2 separate regions of the Homo sapiens genome follow, and region 2 is linked to region 1. Evidence: promoter capture Hi-C in 16 types of primary human blood cells and fetal thymus (Javierre and others, 2016). All regions are on one chromosome and are shown on one strand. The core of a region is centred on a gene start or on the middle of the fragment in contact, and the rest is flanking DNA. Distances in the headings are between cores, read along the strand shown.

Region 1 (3,343 bases), core at 696-3,195:
CAGAGTTATTACTCAAATCAATCTCTTGGAGAATTCAGGGACTAGTGTTTTTCAAAGATAGTTTGGGGAAGGGATGGAGTGGCTAAGCAATGGGTTCTTGCTGCTTATTGGTTGGGGATGCAGTCATAGGGGTATGGGAAATTGTCCTCAAGCAGCTCGACAACTTCTGTGTGGGAACCCAGAAGCGGTTAGAGGTTCAGGTGGAACCATTGGTAGTCAGACATGCAAAATATCTGAAAAGATATCTCAAAACGCCAATCTTAGGGTCTACAATAGTGATATTATCTGGAAGAGTAATGGAAAAGTTGCATACCTTGTGACCTCTGGGATAATGACTGGCAACGGTTTATGTCTACACCTTAGCAGAATTCAGCCTCCTTTATCCGTCTACCCTGGTGGTCTCTTACTAGCTTTACAAAGGCGGTTGGCTTTTGGGGAAGGGTTATTATCATTTAAACTATAAACTAAATGTCTCCCAAAGTTACATTGACAGGCCCAAGCACAGGAATAATTAAGGGCAGCTTGAAGGCTAAAAGCAAGATAGGGGTTGGCTAGATCAGATCTCTCCCACTGCCATAATTTTCTCACTGTTATAATTTTCGCAAAGGCGGGTTCCAAGATAACCCTTAAAGAATGGGGTGGGTTGAGGGAAGGGCCTCTCAGGCCGAGTGAACAGCAAATGCAGAGGCCTGGCCTGAGGAACAACAGGTTCAGCGCGCCAGCGGTTAGGCAGGGGGACACACTAGGACCAGTGACCAGATGCCCAGTCCACATGACCTTGTTTGCCATGTGGCAAAGTAAAACAGAGGTTCCTCTTCAAAAACTTTCCTCCCCGTCTAATTAGGAATAAATAGTAACTTCTCTTAAAAGCAAAATTTATTCAAAGATCTGTGCTAACATTCTTAAATATCTGCTAGCCATAATAAAAAAAAATGTACTTTATGTTCTTAGCTCCCACAATTTAGCCTAAATATTTGCCCTGGCATGCTTTTACTAGTCCAAGCAAGCATTAGGTCATAGCCTGTTCCTCTTCCTTATTTAAAAGTGTTTTCATCTTTCTCAGCATTCCACAAGTTACTTCCTCCTTCCTTTGTTCTCCTCTACCTTTGCCTCTTTTAAAAAGTTCTAAGTTGCTAGCCAATCGGGACAAATACAAAATGTGAGGTCCGGTCCAGCCAATAAAAACCAGCCACAGCAGTAAGGTAAACACGTCAGGTTATAAATGACCCTGTCTCCTTTTGTTCAGTGTACTCTCCTGGCAAAACTGCTGGCGAGTGTACCCTTTCTGCAGAAAGTAAAAATGGCCTTATTCAGTAAGTTAAATTTATGTTGCTATTTCTTTACGACACCGGAAAACAAACATTTCAAACACCATGCTGAGAACTCAGTCCTTGTTTTGGGGAGGGATGCACTTGGAAGATTCGAGCTAAGGTACAATCCTCCCTAGGTATCCGCGGGTCATTGTTTTCAGGACCCCCACAGATACCAACATCCGCCATGCTCAAGCCCCTTACATTATGTGGGGGTGCACGGTGGGTCCTTCCCATCCGCAGGTTCGGCATCCGTGGATGGGGAGTGGATACAGAGGGCGGACTATACAGCTTGAAAGGCTTCCCTGGAAGCAATATGTAGAGTGGATTGTGGAGGAGCAAGAACAGAAGCGGGGAGGCTTGTCCAGAGCATACAGGGGAAGGATGTACGGCCAAGGGAGGAATCCCAGACGACCGCGATACGTGACATATTTATGTTTGCACGAAAATAAAGTTTGGAAGAAAAGTGTTGGGGGAACAAGGGATTCATTTTCCCGGGGTAGTTGGAATGCAATGGGACGCCTCAGGCCGCTGGGACAGGCTGGCCTCCGCGCGGGGGCGCCCGAGCAGCCGAGCCGCCGGGCCTTCCGGCTGCCCCGCCGGAAGTGCTCTCCTGACCCGCCGCTGTGCAGCGCAGCGCACCGCGGGAAGATGGCGTTGGAGGTCGGCGATATGGAAGATGGGCAGCTTTCCGACTCGGATTCCGACATGACGGTCGCACCCAGCGACAGGCCGCTGCAATTGCCAGTGAGTGTGAAAGGAGGGTGGGTGATCGTGGCTGGGCGCGCGGAGCCTGGGCCCCGGGGAGCGCGCAGGCAGCGGTGAGGGTGAGGGGTGGGAGCTAGGAGCCCGGGCCAGAGCGAGGAGCCCAGGCTGTCGGGTCAGTGGCCGCAGAAGGGGCGAGCAGACGTCCCCCAGGCGGGCTCACGGAGCCCGGGCTGCGGGGGCCGAGGGGCGAGGGGCGACGGCGGCAGCGGCAGCGGCTGGCCGTGCGAACCCCGAACTGGCTGCTCCCTGCGAGGCGGGGCGCGCGAGCCCTGGCGCCTCCTGGAGGCCGGCTTGCGGCGGCCTCTTAGACGTCTCACCTCCGCCTACCGCTCTTTCTTTTCTAAACTTGGGGCTTCCCCACTCCATCGCCGCTAGGTAACCATAAAGGGGCAGATTTTGCCAAATATGTAGCATCTAGGGACATCAGCCTGAAACAGCCTGTGATGCTCATTTTCTCCCTGAGCCGAAGGGAGACTGAGGCCCAGGAATGAAGTTTATCGCTCACTCAAAGATCTGGTTTTCCATGTTTCCACCGAACCTAGCTTTGTCATGCGGTACCATGGCACTAGGCTTTTGCATTAGCCTCTCTGATTTTGTTTGTTGTTTTGAGGTGGTCTCACGCTGTTGCCCAGGCTGGAGTGCAGTGGCGCGATCTCGGCTCACTGCAACCTCCGCCTCCCGGGTTCAAGCGATTCTCCTGCCTCAGCCTCCCGAGTAGCTGGGATTACATGCGCCCGCTGCCACGCCCGGTTAATTTTTGTATTTTTGGTAGACGCGGGGTTTCACCATGTTGCCCAGGCTGGTCTCGAACTCCTGACCTCAAGTGATCGGCCTGCCTCGGCCTCCAAAAGTGCTGAGATTACAGGTGTGAACCACGGCGCCCGGCCACATCCAGCTAATTTTGTATTTTTAGTTGAGACGAGATTTCTCCATGTTGGTCAGGCTGGTCTCGAACTCCCAACCTCAGGTGATCCGCCCGCCTCGGCCTCCCAAAGTGTTGGGATTACAGGCGTGAGCCACCTCGCCCGGCCTAATTTTTGTATTTTTAGTAGAGACGGGGGTTCTCCATGTTGGCCAGGCTGGTCTTGAACTTCCGACCTCAAGTGATCCACCCGCCTCGGCCTCCCAAAGTGCTGGGACTACAGGCGCGAGCCACCGCGCCCGGCCCAGCTTCCCTGCTTTCTAAACGGGAATTTGTCTTGACTGCCTTGGTAGGTAGCAACCTCTTTGAGAGGGCGTTGGTGCCAGGCTGCCTGTGTTCAGAT
Region 2 (3,324 bases), core at 805-3,304, 630 kb after region 1:
GACCAGGAAGCAGGAAACCCGGGCAAGCTACCTATGCCCTTTACGGCACCTGTTTATTTTCAAGTGGCTTCCTCCCTCACCTCCTCCGGGCGTGTGTATCAGCCGGCATGGCGTCTCTGCCCCATGCCCTGGGCCGCCAGGGGCCCGCAGGCTACGCGGGAGGTGGAGCGAGGGGAGCGAGCAGCGCACCCCCCTCTGGGGGCCGAAGCAGGGACGCCCAGGGCGCAGGCTTTCGGGCTGGACCTCGAGAAACGTGTGCAAAGTATGTGTTTTTGCTTGACACTTGGAGAATTCTGTTTTTTTGGCTTTATTCCTGAAAGCAAAAATGGGCAATTGAGATAAATGAAAAAGAGAGGCATCAATAAGAAAAACGAAAGAGTTCATCAGTGAATTTTTATGGCATCTAAAATTTTAGTTTTTGGTAATTTAGTTTTAGGCAGCAGATGAGACTGTAATATCCCTTGTAGTTTGTCCATGTCGTTCCCCAAGTGTGAAGTACTATGGCCATCGGCAGCAAAAAAGCGTATTGGTGGGATTTCAGGGGATGAGAGCTCTCTCATCAGCAGCCATTCCATCCCATTTTCTTCTCAGGACTGGTTTTTGCTGTTCACTTTTTCCCCTTCCTAGCCCCATTGATCAGGGAAAGGGGTGGAGCTGGAAGGCAGGGAAAAGTATGCGTCAAAATTAAGCTCCGATATTAAAACCCTGGTGTTGAAACCCCGGTGTCCCCAGGCTTGAAGCTAACTGCATGGCGCTCACCCTTTAAATGGTCTACATCCAAGCGGGAAGGCAGAGAGGTCCAGGACTAAGCGACCACCCCAGGGAGGGAAGGACACAAGTGAAATCTGCTCTGGGAGTCCCAGATCTTAGTTCATCCTTGGAGAAAAGTCCTAGAGCCAAGAGACTTAGAAAGTGAGATGAATGAAAGAAAGAAAATAAACAATTGTTGGGTCTGTCAGGAAAGGAGAATGTGGGACTGACCAAGAACGGTTATATTCCAGGCTCCTTACATATATTATGTATCCCTCCCAGCAGCACAGTGAGGCAGGCCTGTTTTGTGATTCCATTTTGCAGATGGGGAGACTGAGGCACGTGGAATCTGTTTGCCAATACCACGTAGGTTTGTGGATCTTTGATTTGAATGTCAGCCTCTGTCATTTTAAATCTTGTGTTATTTTCTTAATGGGAAGCAAGAAAAACATATTTGTGTCCTAATAACCCAATAGAACTGTGGTATTTTAGTGCCACTTATTCAGTCCCTTTCAACGCCTTTATTTCAAAGTTGAAGAGGCAAAATTGCCCAGAGTTGGGCAAGGCAGGCTTGGAATGCTGTCCTGTGTCAGTGAAGGGCACCCACCATCCACCCAAGCCTTTTAGCCCAAATCTGGACACTATCTTGGTGACTCCCCACTACCTCTTACACGGGATCCATTTGTAAGTCCTATAAGCTTCAGCTCTAAAGAACTGAATCCTCCCCCTTCTCTCTCCTGAGTTTATGCAGTAGTCTCCTAATTGATATTTCTAATTCCACTCTTCACCCTGTAGTCATCGTGATGTTTACAAAAATGAAATGGTTTCATTCCTCTGCTTAAAGCACATCAAATAAATCTCATACTCTTAGATTAAAATCGAAACTCCTCAGCATGGCTGCTAGATCCTCCATGAGCTCATCCTTTTCTGCTGATCTTGCTAGGGTCCCTCTCTTCTTCCTGCTCCCTGCTGTTGCCACATGGCCTCCTTCCTGTGTCTTGGGCATATTAGGGATGTGATGCCGGAAACACTCTTTCTTGGAATCTGGTTAGCACCTTCCCATCCATCAGGTCTCTGCTTAAATGGCAGAAAAGCCTTCCCTGACAGCTGCACTCCAAGTGACCCTGTAAAATTACTCTATCACATCAACCCCTTTATTTTCTTCATAGTGTTTATCACCATCTATAATCTTCTTGATAATCTGTATACTTTATCCACTAGAATGTAAGCTGGGGATTTCACTATGTTGTTCATTACCACTTTCCAAGGCTTAGACCAAGGCCTGATACATAGAAAATACTCAAAAATATTTGTTGATTGAATAAATGACCAAATGAGCTTAGGCTTCTTGATTCTAGGCCAGTGCCCCTTCCTTCATTAGCCCAGTATGATATAGGTGTGTGACATACTTGGGAGACGGAAAACAGAAAGGTCGCCTCCAAAGGCTAGTAGAATCAGGAGAATGGAGAATGTGGAAGAAGAGAGAGAGCCTAAACAGACTGAGAAGCGTGGGAAGGGAGAGCAGGGATTAAGTCTGGACTGTGGCCTGTGACAAGATCTCCAGTGAATATTTCTTGATTTATCCACAGACACTGTGATGGAGTTTATTACACATAACAGCAAATTCCAAAGCAGGAGTGGCAGCAGAAAACAATGAAGGCAAAGGAAGTAAGCCCGGGAAGAGAAAGCAGTTTTTGGACAACAGTTCCTTCACCTCAGCATTTTTCATGGATTTCAAATAAGTGGTAACAATATTTTTATTTGCACATTTTCTTTGAAAATAAAAATGATCTTATTGATTTTCAAAAAGGAAATAATCAAAGCATATGTTTATATTTTTCTTGCTATTTTATCTTATTTACAAGTGTAATGGTTACCATTCAGGTGAGGTGGCATATTCTGAAGCATCCAGAAGCTTTCTCTCCAACGAAATTATCTTCCTCATTTTGCTTAAATTTTACATAAGTAGCTGAATGGAGCTTTAAAGTGCTGACAATCAAGATCAACAAAGGCTGAGAAGTTACTACATACAATCCTGTGATCCCTGAGCATGATACATAGACTTTGAGAACTTTGAGGACAGGCTCTGTGCTCTGTTCAGTTTAGTGTCCTAAGGTCAATGGCATATGGTGTTATGCTAGGTACTTGGGAAACAGTCACTGTCTTTAGGATGCTTAGTAGATGTTCAATAAATGTTTAAGATGTTGGGAGGAGCAGATGTGAAATGATAACAAAAAGTAGTACAGGGTAAATGTCCCAAGAGAAGTACAAAACTTGGAGATGTAAAGGAGGAAATTATGGCTTTTCAGAGGGGTCAGGGAGAACCTTATGAAGGGCAAGTATTTGAAGATAGAAAAGATGGGCACTTATTATTAAATGGATGAATACAAGCATTAAATTGCCAAAGGACAAAAAATTCCAAGCAAACACAGAGGCAGGAAAGCATTGCGATTGTAGGATTCAAGCAGAGGAAGAAAAGCGAAATGTCTGGAGCAGCAGGTTGAGGAGACTGTGCTGTTGAGGCCTTGGACCCCAGTAGATGTGAGGAGAGTGTGCTGGATATTTCTGTGAGCC

Evidence for each region. The method cuts DNA at HindIII sites, captures the fragments that hold promoters and counts their contacts. A CHiCAGO score of 5 or more calls a contact.
Region 2: a fragment that was not itself captured here is called in contact with the fragment with the promoter of PHAX in region 1 in 1 of 17 cell types (monocytes); the score reaches 5.0 in monocytes.

What each region holds. Positions count from the first base shown.
Region 1 is chr5:126,599,002-126,602,344 of GRCh38, forward strand. PHAX (phosphorylated adaptor for RNA export) reads left to right here and starts at 1,946. Exons shown (of 5, transcript NM_032177.4): 1 at 1,946-2,057. The coding sequence starts at 1,962. RefSeq lists enhancers at 1,028-1,877, 1,878-2,725, 2,726-3,343 and silencers at 1,784-1,993, 2,114-2,363. The HindIII fragment of the contact is 34,757 bases long and covers 1-3,343 here.
Region 2 is chr5:127,229,635-127,232,958 of GRCh38, forward strand. It overlaps LOC124901057 (a long non-coding RNA gene), which reads right to left. Exons shown (of 3, transcript XR_007058923.1): 3 at 2,490-3,324. It overlaps LOC105379198, which reads right to left and starts at 750. Exons shown (of 5, transcript XM_041680488.2): 1 at 746-750; 2 at 81-313; 3 at 1-27. The coding sequence starts at 750. It also overlaps a transcript of MEGF10 not described here. RefSeq lists silencers at 1-57, 208-267. The HindIII fragment of the contact is 1,217 bases long and covers 1,447-2,663 here.